2 separate regions of the Homo sapiens genome follow, and region 1 is linked to region 2. Evidence: promoter capture Hi-C in 16 types of primary human blood cells and fetal thymus (Javierre and others, 2016). All regions are on one chromosome and are shown on one strand. Each heading gives the region's core, a stretch centred on a gene start or on the middle of the fragment in contact. The rest is flanking DNA. Distances are from core to core; before and after follow the strand shown. Region 1 holds the start of SUDS3 (SIN3A corepressor complex component SDS3). Region 2 holds the start of TMPO (thymopoietin).

Evidence for each region. Contacts are between HindIII fragments. The CHiCAGO score rates a contact against its expected background, and 5 or more counts as called.
Region 1: a contact is called between the fragment with the promoter of SUDS3 here and the fragment with the promoter of TMPO in region 2, in 1 of 17 cell types (naive CD8 T cells). The highest score is 7.0, in naive CD8 T cells.

Annotation. Positions count from the first base shown.
Region 1 is chr12:118,373,816-118,380,111 of GRCh38, reverse strand. It overlaps SUDS3 (SIN3A corepressor complex component SDS3), which reads right to left and starts at 3,557. Exons shown (of 12, transcript NM_022491.3): 1 at 3,279-3,557. The coding sequence starts at 3,420. It overlaps LOC124903031 (a long non-coding RNA gene), which reads left to right and starts at 3,985. Exons shown (of 2, transcript XR_007063480.1): 1 at 3,985-4,156; 2 at 4,321-4,814. RefSeq lists silencers at 3,161-3,310, 3,341-3,560 and an enhancer at 3,002-3,502. The HindIII fragment of the contact is 4,103 bases long and covers 295-4,397 here.
Region 2 is chr12:98,512,426-98,518,140 of GRCh38, reverse strand. TMPO (thymopoietin) reads right to left here and starts at 2,551. Exons shown (of 9, transcript NM_001032283.3): 1 at 1,995-2,551. The coding sequence starts at 2,273. TMPO-AS1 (TMPO antisense RNA 1) reads left to right here and starts at 1,915. Exons shown (of 2, transcript NR_027157.1): 1 at 1,915-2,150; 2 at 2,244-5,168. RefSeq lists a silencer at 1,792-2,061 and enhancers at 2,402-2,591, 2,852-2,931. The HindIII fragment of the contact is 4,246 bases long and covers 384-4,629 here.

The sequences.
Region 1 (6,296 bases), core at 2,308-4,807, about 20 Mb before region 2:
TGGCGTCACCTGACACAGAGTATGCACTCAATAAACTCCCGTAAAATCAATTTCTATTCAAGGCAGGCTTGCACAAAGCCATCAATGAAAAACATTACATACAGTTAGTAGGCCATCCCTATCTGCAAACACGAAACCTGTGGACACAAAAGGCCAATGCAAAGAATTTGAGTATCCTCAGGTTGTAGTATCCATGAAGTCCTGGAACCAGTCCCCCATAGATACCGAGGGACAGCCGTACTTCAGAAAAGAAAAGGCCATTTCCAACTTACAGTCAGATTTATGCAAAAAGCTTGCCTTTACCTGAAATGCAGCCACAGAATAGGGTGTCTCAGGCACAGGCAGTTATGGTGAAGGCTGCTACTTCTGCAGAAACAACAATGCTGGCAACTCAAGAAAGGAGATGCAGGCGTAAGACTGGACACTGCAGGCAGTCAAGCCTTACTCGCTGCTCCAGAAAAAAACTAGTATGTACATTCTCTTCTGATACATACCCAGTTGGAACCCTTCGCACATTTTACATCAGGATACACGGTTGTCCCTCAGTATCCGTGGGGGAGTGGTTACTGCACCTCCCGTGGATACCAAAATCCTCAGCTGCTCAAGTCTCTGACAAAATGGCATAGTATTTGCATATAACCTACGCACATCTTCCAGTATACTTTTCTTTTTAATGAGACACAGTCTCACTCTGTCGCCCAGGCTGGAGTGCAGTGGCACAATCTCGGCTCACTGCAACCTCCACCTCCTGGGTTCAAGCGATTCTCCTGCCTCAGCTTCCCAAATAGCTGGGATTACAGGGGTGCACCACCACACCCGGCTACTTTTTGTATTTTTAGTAGAGATGAGGTTTCGCCACGTTGGCCAGGCTGGTCTCGAACTCCTGGCCTCAAGTGAACCACCTGCTTTCGCATTCCAAAGTGCTGGGATTACAGGCATGAGCCACTGCACCAGGCCAACAGTACACTTTAAATCATCTCTAGATTACTTAGAATATCCAGGCCAGGCATGGCAGCTCATGTCTGTAATCCCAGCACTTTGGAAGGCCAAAGCAGGAGAATCACCTGAGGACAGGAGTTCCAGACCAGCCTGGCCAACGTGGTGAAACCCCATCTCTACTAAAAACACAAAAATTAGGGCCAGGTGCAGTGGCTCACGCCTGTAATCCCAGCACTTTGGGAGGCAAAGGCAGGTGGATCACCTGAGGTCGGGAGTTCGAGACCAGCCTGACCAGCATGGAGAAACCACGTCTCTACTAAAAATACAAAATTAGCTGGGGGTGGCGGCACATGCCTGTAATCCCAGCTACTCAGGAGGCTGAGGCAGGAGAATTGCTTGAACTCGGGAGGCAGAGGTTGTGGTGAGCCGAGATCGCGCCATTGCACTCCACCCTGGGCAACAAGAGTGAAACTCCATCTCAAAAAAAAATAAAATAAACAAAACAACAAATAAAACCACAAAAATTAGCCAGGCATGGTGGCAGGTGCCAGTAATCCCAACTACTCCGGAGACTGAGGCAGGAGAACTGCTTGAACCCAGGAGATGGAAGTTGCAGTGAGCTGAGATCGTGACACTGCACACCAGCCTGGGTGAGTGAGTGAGACCCCATCTTAAAAAAAAAAAAAAAAAGATTACTTACAATATCCAATAAAATGTAAATACTATGTAAGTAGTTGTTACGCTACACTGTTTAGGAATAACAAAAAAAAAGTCTGCACATGTTCAGTACAGATCCAATTTTTTTCCTGAATATTTTTGAGCTGCGCTTGGTTGAATTCACAGATGCAGAACCCACAGATACGCAGAGCCAACTGTATACAATAAAAAAGGGGAATCTGACACAAATAAATATTTTCCAAGTTACAACTAAAGGGAACAAGGAGGAGGCCAGATGATCAAACGAAAACTGTTTCAGAACATCTTAAACATTGTTCTTAGAACAAGCTAATGGCTGGGGTGTGTACAAAATTTTAATAGCCCCTATACTGGAAGGAAAAAAAAACTCAATTTTGGCTCCACAGCGCCCCCTCGTGGGTATGAGATGAAGTGCAAGTGCTTCACATTCAAAATCTCTGGTTAAGCCGTGTCTTCTGATGGAATTAAATCGAATGCAGTCCCTCAACTTTGTATGTCATGCATATGCAGCTGTCTTTTGTAAGGCTGTTGCAGATCCAATTCCCCACAAACCCTTCTCCCCTCCTTCAGTCAAGAGGCCTTCCCTGAGTTCCTGTCATGGTCAGCCACATTACTTGGCACTCGGGAAACTCAGATGAATAAAACGTAGGCCCCATTCCAAACAGCTGGTCTAGCTTTTGCTCCACGGCCCGATTTTGTCCCAGAATATTCCGCTCATATATCGGTCTCTCTTTGTTTCCTATTTCTCCTCCCTTGATCTCTCACATTTCATCACCTTCCTCCTCCTCCATCCCTCCAAAATAGCGTTCCTCACACTTGCCAAATTATAAAGCCCAGTTTGAAAAGCAAGGCTCTGAGACTCTGTGATGACAGTGCAAAGAGCGTGGGACTGAAAACACAACACCTGGGGACCATTAAGCAAATCTCTCCCTCTCTTACCTGTTTCCGGGAGGGGGGCGGGTGGGGAGAACATTTACGGAGTATTTACAGTACCAGGCCAAGTACTTTATGCGCATGTCATTTAATCCCTATACCGACCCTAGGAAGTGCCTTCTAGGGCAGGTGTGGGAATTAAACAGCTCCATTACAGTTGGGTAAATCGAGGCTGGAAAACTTAAGTTTACAAAGCTGAGTTAAGTGACAAAGCCAAATTTAAACCTGTATCTGGCTGGTTCTAGGTCCCTTTCCTTTAACCAACCTGAGTTCTCAATAGTGTACTACCTAAAGTATAGATGACTTATGCATTTCGGGGGTGGGGAGGGGCAACTTTGGACTCTGATGCTCTCACACACAAAAAAGGGGCGAACTACACTCGATGTATTCAGTAAATGAGTTTCTAATTCCTACTAGTGAGTGAGGTTCAATCAGAAACGGCTGGGAGGGAGGACGGGGTCTTAAAGGGACCCCCAGCGTGACAACATCTAAGTCCCCTCTCCCCATCACGGTCGAGTGTAACGCACCCAGGGCTTCCCCGCTACTCCAGCACGGATGGGGGTAACTTCCCCGAGCCCCGCAACTCCCGGCGGCCCCTCCACGCAGCCCCAGGCCCCGGAGGCCGCCCCGCCCCTCTCCCGAACAGCCCCACCCCCTCCCCCAGCGGTCCCACCTCCGCTCCGGGCGGCCGGGCGAGCGGCAGGACTCACCTTCGTCCGACTCGCGGCCCCGACAGCTGCGCTCGTCGTCCTCGGCGCTCTCCAGCTCTTCATCCTCCTCGGGGTAGTACTCGGGGGCCGGCGGCGCTCCAGCCTGGGCCGGGGCCGGGGCCAGCAGCCCCGCGGCACTCATGTCGCCTCTGACCGCAGCTGAGCGTGGCCCACGGACACCGCGGCCACCCGCGCTCGGTACTCGCCGTCTGCCTAGCAGTGTCCGCGGCAGCCCCCAACTCGAGGACCGGCAGCCACGGCGACCCCTTCCCCGTCTCCGCCGAGCTCCGCCCCCCGCGCCCGCGCTCGGCAACGGGGGCCTCGCGCCGCGAGCGACTTCCGGGTCGAGAGCTGCCCGACAACGGCCTGATTCCGCCATCCTTGGGGGAGTGGAGATGCCGCTGGACGCCCCCGTCGCCACAACCTCAGCCCTTTCATCGCCGTCTTAAAATCCTCAACGTATAGTGGGGGAGGGGCGGAGCCAGGTTCGCTAGAGTCAGGCAAATCTACGGGCAGGCCCAGCAGCGGTCAGGACCCCGAGGCTCGCAGGCGACTTCCGGAGACAGCCGCCAGGCGGCGCCTGGAGCTAGAACTAAAGCGGTGATCGTTAGCGACCTAGGGGCGGAGGGTTTGAAGGGCCCTTGGCAGGTGGAGGTGGTCTCTAATTTAAGCAGGGAACGACGCGACCTGCCCCCTTATTAGGTCGGAAAACCTAGACGTCCAGAGTGTGCGTGATCATGCAGCCTGGCTCCTCCTGTGACTAGTTAGAGCTTTATTAAGAGCTAAAAGACAAGGATGCTGATATTCCATCCTGGGGACAGCAAAATAGTATTTTCCCAGCCCTTAGGAATCCTTTCTGTTTGTGTAAGGTTTATTCGGTAAGATGTTCCCCCGGTTTTACAAATGAGAAACGAGCTGTCGTTTGCCTAAAAAAAAATAGTAACGTCCAGTCTGATTTTTTAGACTCCGAGACCCAGGCCCTCCGCGGTACAGCTGCCTTGAATATTAATTTTTTAAAAGGTGCTTTTGCTTAATCCAACAGCTTGCTCTGAGCTCTCAACTGAAGAAGGGGAGAATTTGCCTACCAGAAGTTATTTGGCTAAGGCCCACGTGGAAGCTTAAAAAACAGGAGAGCTGAGTATCTGCAAGAATTAATTTGTGCGATTCCCTCTGAGTAGAAAAGGAACACGGTGTTATAAGTTTTGCTGAACGAATAGATTTAAGGTGTCCCTTTAGCTAAGAGCAATGTGGTCTAGTTGTGTGTAGCGAGAAAAAAGGGTAAGGTTTTTAATGGTTTGTCCAAAGTAGCCCCACTTTTATGTTCCACCCGAGTCTCCGTAGGAAACGCAACCAGTAGTGAAAATGAACAGATGTGAAAACCAGGGTGGAACCGAATATTCCCATTCTCAGACCTTTTGTGATTAAATTTATCTCTGAATTGTTCCCTATGGACTCTTCTGAAAATGAAACGTTATTCTCATCCCACTTATTTTGACATTTATTTACTACCTTGTTTTAATTAAAATCTTGGCTCTATTTGTAAGTGATTTTTTCTCCCAACAAAACTAAAGAATTTCCAGAATGGAATGCTAAGATGTCTTTCCAGGAGTTCTGAGATCTTCTGAAGCCCCTTCTAAATAAGAATCATTCTCAGATCGCACCGTAGGTCTGCCATCTATATTTAAACTAGGATTCCAGAACTGTCTCTTGTCCAAAAGATGAAGTCATTTTCTTTCTTTGTGCTGTTGGAGAACATCTAAATTACTTGCAATCAACTATATTGAGTAACTTGCGTTCCTGTCAGTAGCAGTAATCATAGTGCAGAAAAAGCAAAGATTTTAGAAATCAAGAGTTCATTGATACAATTAATTTTTAAGTTTATTTCGTTGCTAAATGGTTTCCTTTCAAGACGCTGAGATTTTTATCCTGCTTATGTTTTACTGCTGTCTTCTTGACTGCAAACAGCATCTGTTAATGGTCATGCATTTCTTTTTTATATGTAATGAATAGACACAACTGAGCACTTGGGTTATGAAAACTTACCCCATTTTTTTCTGTCCAGATTGCCAGCTGCAGAACTAAAAAATGCTCTTTAGTGAAGGTGGACCTACTCAAAAAAATTCTCTTATGGCTTTAGTCTTACCTAACCTTTAGATTTATTTAATATGATTTTGGACAGTCGCTATACTCCTGTAAAAATCAAGTTCCCTCAAAACCAAGTTTTACCACCTTGAAATCTTTTTATATATCCCTTCTCAAAACGGTACTCAGCCACACCGCTCAGGAACTCGACTTGACTTGAAACGAAGCCCTGCCAGCCCCATTTCCACAACTTCTTTGCTTCCAGGCCTTCTCTGCCTACCCTAACACCCAAACTGAAACTTTAAAGGGGGACATCACAATTGGAATGGAGTATGATTCTTTTTTTTCTTTTTCTTTTTTTCTTTTTTTGAGACGGAGTTTTGCTCTTTCACCCAGGCTGGAGTGAAGTGATGCGATCTCGACTCACTGCAACCTCCGCCTCCGGGTTCAAGTGATTCTCCTGCCTCAGCCTTTCTAGTAGCTGGGATTACAGGTGGGTGCCACCATGCCCGGCTAATTTTTGTATTTTTCGTACAGACGGGATTTCACCATGTTGGCCAGGCAGGTCTGGAACCCTTGACCTCAGGTGATGAATGGCGTATGATTCTTAAAACACTAGAAGAAACATGTATACTGTTTAGAACACAAACACATTTTGTCAGCTGGAGTTAAAAAGTTAACAATCGAGGGTTCTCTGAGAACTAAGGCCTGTATACATCTGACAAAACTTAGGATCAAAATGTGTTCCTGAGACAATTTCTTCATAAAATGCTAAATTCTAAAGTCCATAAACTTACTTTTGGCGTTAAGAGTAAGGAAAGCAGTTTTCTGTTTCCGGTGTTGATTTGATCAGCATATCCAGTTTCACAAAAATAACACAAATGGGTCTTAGTAGCATGATGCACTTTCACCCCTGGCAGGCACTATCCTTTAGCG
Region 2 (5,715 bases), core at 1,302-3,801:
GAAGTCTCGCTCTTGTCCCCCAGGCTGGAGTGCGATGGCGCGATCTCGGCTCACTGCAACCTCCGCCTCCCGGGTTCAAGCGATTCTCCTGCCTCGGCCGCCGCCACCAGGCACGGCTAATTTTTGTATTTTTTTTCTTTAGTAGAAACGGGGTTTCACCATATGGGCCAGGCTGGTCTAGAACTCCTGACCTCAGGTGATCCACCCGCCTGGGCCTCCCAAAGTGCGGGGCTTACAGGCGTGAGCCACCGCGCCCGGCCTCAACCAACTCTACTTAAAGAGTTTAAATACTACCTTCTTTTTCAGAGCAGGGAAACATAACGGGTAAGCGGGTACGCTTTTATTTCAAAAGTAAATTTGTTTATTAAGAAATTAAAGAAGCTTTCCGCAAAACAAGATGTTTAAACAATAAGGTGTGATTGGTCTTTTATTTATTGTACAAATATTTGGCACTACTATGTGCCAGACACCGGACTGAAGACGTTTGGTAAAACTTTCAACTTCTCTGAAGCCGAGAATAAGATTTTCAATTAAATTTACATGTGTCTATTACATTTGTCTTTCATTTCTGCCTGAGTAGCCGGGAAAACACATTAGACAGGTTCCTTAAAAACTAAAGTAAAATTTGAAGGAAGGAATAATTTCGGTTTAAACTAGTGATCATTCCCAACAACTCCAAACACCACATTCACTGTCTCTTACAAGGCATTTTATGTTACACCAATTACTAGTTTTAGCTTCATCCTATTACGATTTGAAGCCTGGTAACTCGGCAGGCATAAGCAAACCCACAAAAAGCATATTAAAATCCACAGGTAAAAAAGCAAACTATTCTGAAACAAAACATGCTTTGCTGGAGCCGATTTGAGATTTAACCAGGATCAGACATTCCAAATTGCAATACTGATGCACCAGAATGTCATGAAATAAATTTTTCCTGAATCCTAAGTCTTTCGTTTCCTCAAGCAAAATTTACCAATATGTGGGGAAAACGCAATCCAAACTGCAATTTTCAAATATTTGTTTGCAGGGCCGGGCCCGGTGGCTCACGCCTGTTATCCCAGCACTTTGTGAGGCCGAGGCGGGAGGACCACCTGAGGTCAGGAGTTCGAGACCAGCCTGACCAACTTGGAGAAACCCCGTCTCTACTAAAAAATACACAAATCAGCCGGGCGTGGCGGCGCATGCCTGTAATCCCAGCTACTCGGGAGGCTGAGGCAGGAGAATCGCTTGAACCCGGGAGGTGGAGGTTGCGGTGAGCCGAGATCTCGCCATTGCACTCCAGCCTGGGCAACAAGTGCGACACTCCATCTAAAAAAATAAATAAATAAAAACTAAAAAATTATAATAGGCGCCTAAAAATATAGTTTAAAATGCTCCTTTTAATTCGGCATGAACCTGTTCCGCCAAAAGATGGCCTGTTGCTGGGAAAAATTAAAACAAACTAGAAAACATAAACGGTTCAAAAAGCCCTCCACACGCAAAAGTATAAAAAGGCGGGAATTTCCTCATTTCAAATTTTGGTTAGAAATTAGAGTGTCATCAGTTGCCCTCCAGGGAGCGCTCTGAGACTCTGCTGCGAGTCATTTCAGTTAATAAAGCGGGAAAACGCTCGAACTTAACCTATAGCATTTTGGGGCCACCCCTCCAGAGCTTTCGAAAGGGCACGGAAGTCCCCGTCTAAACGCCCGCTGCAGGCGGCTGGTGGTCCAGGGAAGCGGCGTCGACTGCGTGCAAAACAACCGCCGCCAACGCAACTCCACACCTCCCAGACCCACACGTCAAAGAACGCGAACCCCGCGGCCCCAACTTCTGGCCTCTCCGCTCCGGCGCCTGCAGCCCCGCGGGGAAGGGGCGACGCGAGGGGGCGCAGGGACAGCCCCGCACCTGGGAGGCCCGAGGGGGCGCCCGGGAGGGAGGGGCTGCAAACGGCGGCGAGCGCGCGCGGCAACCGCCAAACGCCCGCCTTTGTAGCCCCGGCCCCGCGTCCTTACCCTGCCGACGGCTGCTCGGCTCCGGCCCGCGGCGGCGGCCCCAGAGCCGAGGACCGGGGTGGGCTCGCGCTCTTCGTCACTGGAGAAGTCCGGGGGCCCCTTGCTGTTGGTGCCGGCGGGGAGCGGCGGCCGGTTGCGAGCCGTGAGGTGCTGCAGGTAGAGCTGGACGTACACGTCTTTGCGCTGCTCCCCGGCCGGCAGCGTCACATTGTTGGCGACCAACTCACTCTTCAACTTGTCTTTTGTCAGGACCGAGGGGTCTTCCAGGAACTCCGGCATCTCGGGGATCTGCGAAGCCCCCTCCCCACAGCCTTTGCCGCCGCCGCTCACGCCGGCGCGCTTGCTCCTGGCCGGGGACCGCGCTGCCGCCTCCGAGCCTCACGGCTCCTGCCCGGGAAGAGCGCTGCGGAGCGGAACAAAAACTCGCGGACACAAAGCCAAGCCAGACCCGGACACAAAAGACCCCAGAGCCGAACTACGAACCAACTGCGGCCAAGCTGGAAGCTCGCACCAACCCCAGCCCACACACTACAGGCAGGAGGCGAGCAGCCTGCTTCGCCCACGCCCCAAGAACGCGCGCCGCCATTGGCGGGCGACGGGAGGAAGCGCGGCGGTGATTGGCGAGACGGCTCGCGCGGGTTCCATTAGCCGCCGCGCTGAGCGAGAGGAGGTAGAAACGCAGTTTAAAAGGCGCTGGGGCGGGAGCCGAGGCTCCCGGCCCGCTTCTGTTTTCGTTTTCTCCACCCTTCCCCTTAGACGCCGATAAGGGACAGGTCGTACTGCTTTTGTGCGCCGTTTCCTCTCCCTCCCCCAGCTTGAGAAGCAGCTTTCGTCTCTGGGGTCGATCGCCTACGAACGCGCCGAATTCCACGCCAGTGTGAGGACCCTTGGCTGGGCCTTTCTTCCTCCCGGGACACTGAAGCTCCAAGAGTAGCCGCAGCCTTGCCTTCCCCAAACGCTAGCCCTGAAGGGGAAGAAAAGAAGCGAGGCTTGTCTGCAGGCACTCATATTCCTTGATTTGATTTACTTTGGGAGGGGGAGGGCGGGGAGTTACCCCTCTCCTCGCGAACGCTTCTTTTGTTCCAGAAACCCAGGGGAAGCCAGACCTCTACAATCGGGCACTTAAATTACCCTTGAATTTGTGACAAAAGTGTACTATACCATTCACTTCTTAGTGTCATAGTTGGGGCATGTCTAAATTGTTTAATTTGAACAGTGCGTTCAGACGCAAGACAAATTCGCGCTTGCATTTTTGTTGAAACCGTCTCTGGCTTTGGATCCCACCACCCGCAAGAATCCTAAACCTAACGTTTGATAACAAAACGAAGGAGAACCCTTGGGAACCCCCTCAATGGTCAATTTAAAATAACAGATGGTGCATAATCCTAAAGGAAGACTAGTGACCTATAATTAGGCCTAGAACCCTAATCAAACCCGTATTACCGATCCAAATTAAAACCTGGTAGAATCTAATACATTGACTGCAATTAAAATGTTTGCCTGGAAATTAGTATCACTGATGACAAATATTTGTATTTCTGATGAATATGTATGTTTAAAGATGCTTTCTTTCTAGAAAGGAAAGGAGACCTTGGATGTAGGGTGTGTTAATCATTTCCCCAGAATCTGAGCTCCAAACTATGTTTTAGAAACTGGTTAAATTTTTTTTAAATGTTTGCCTGCTTTCTACATTGCTAGGTTAGAATACATTTAAAACAAACGCCTTCACTAAAAATGTTTCCTATGATTTAAGCGACTTACTTTTATTCAAATTGCGATATTATTTCTTTTAGTGATAATTATTTTCCTAGAGGTAACTAATTCCTTTATAAAAATCTCAGTATTCACATACATTTAAGCAATGGTATTAAGCTCAATAATGCAAATTAAAAATCAGGTTTTAATTAGCAAGTTGTTAGGTAGGTTTTTATGATCCCTTGTAAAAGTTGCTTGGTTTTTTGTCCTCACAGCTTCCCTGGACACATAGGCAAATGTTTTTATCTTCAGAAGGGGAACTGAGCTGAGAGGCAAAGGACCATGACTTTGCAATGACTGGTAACCCAGTACGTATAATGCAAGAACTGCATTCTAGATACGCCTGAAATTAATGTTTCCTGGGCAAAAACATTTTCATTATCTTTTTTTTAATCCCTGGACATTAGCTACAGGTGGTTACTTGCAGATTTACTGCTGTAGAGCTCCAAAATTGAGATTACACTTTTCAGATTCTGCGTACCCTAAGGCTAAGAGGTTGGGCTATTGAGTTTGGGTGGTCTCTTTGGTCCTGATTGCTACTTCCAAACCATTTCTGCTCTTTTCTGCTTCAAAAATATTTGAAGTTCATATCTTCTGGCTAAATCACTTTCTACTCTCCTTCCTGCCATCATCCACGAGCCTCCTGGTCACTTTCCAGAAATTATAGAGCTGCTTGCCGTAGGTTTTCCTCACCATCCCTCTTGTCTACATTCTATCTGAATTCAGCATGCTTGTAGGTGACCCATGCAACACCAACACTTGGCCTCTTAGACCTCTGACCTCTTCATCTCCAACAATTTGTTCCTCTCTTGCGTCTTAACCACTTCGGTATCAGTCAGATTCTGAACCTTGTCATCAGTTGAAATCTCAGTTTCAAGCTTCCCAATTGTCAATCACTAGCCTTTTTTTCCCAGCTAATTTATGGTACTCTCACTTACCTAATTAAGACCTCCACGCTATTAACCCCAACACTTAAAAAAACTCAACTCTTCTGCTTCTGCCATCATGTAATAATTTTGCAACTCACCTGACTTAAATTCCCTGATCAGTCCTTTTCATCACTCTTTTACAAACATTTTCAACTCTCTGATCTCAATGTCTCCTTTTTTGCTTGAAAGAATCTCAGCCTTGCTTGGACTAAACCATGCTCCAGCTGAACTTTCTCATTGCTTACATCCAAACAGCAAAAGCTGCTGGAGAAAAGTCAGTCATATAACAAGCTAACTGGTTTTAATTCATGACCTCAGTCCTCTCAGGAGCACTCAACACTGGCTGGCAATGCTATTCCAGTCTCTGGGTTAACCATTCATACGTTCACATCTCCTCAAATTTCACATCCTTTTTCCCTACCTCTCATTTTTAGCTGGTGACCTTGCCTCAACTTCAAAAAATAAAAACCACCTATGAGGAATGCTTCAACGTCAGACTTTCCAATTTGCATTCATTTTCTCTTGCATTTTTCTTTTCAGTGAAAGATGTGTCCTGTCAGAAGGAAATTCCACCACTTGTACTCTGGCTCTCACCCTTCTCAAGGAATTGACTCTTTCCATCATCTCCTTAATACTTGTTTCAACATAAAAGATAATTTTTAAAATATTTGATCAATGTGACACAAAAAACACAAAGGCTGAGCACTGTGGCTCACGCCTGTAATCCCAACACTTTGGGAGGCTGAGACAGGCGGATCCCTTGAGCTTAGGAGTTCAAGACTAGCCTGGGCAAAACAGTAAAACCCCCTCTCTACAAAAAAATACAAAATTTAGCCATGGTGCCCACCTGTAGTTCTAGCTACTAGGGAGACTGAGGTGGGAGGATCACTTGAGCCTGGGAGGTTGAGGCTGCAGTGAGCCATAATCCTGTCACTGCATTCCAGCCTGGGTGACAGAGTGAGACCCTGTCTCTAAAATCAATATGTGTAAGATGTAGATTGGTCCCTTCCAGAAAGGCGGGACAACTATTAATAAAA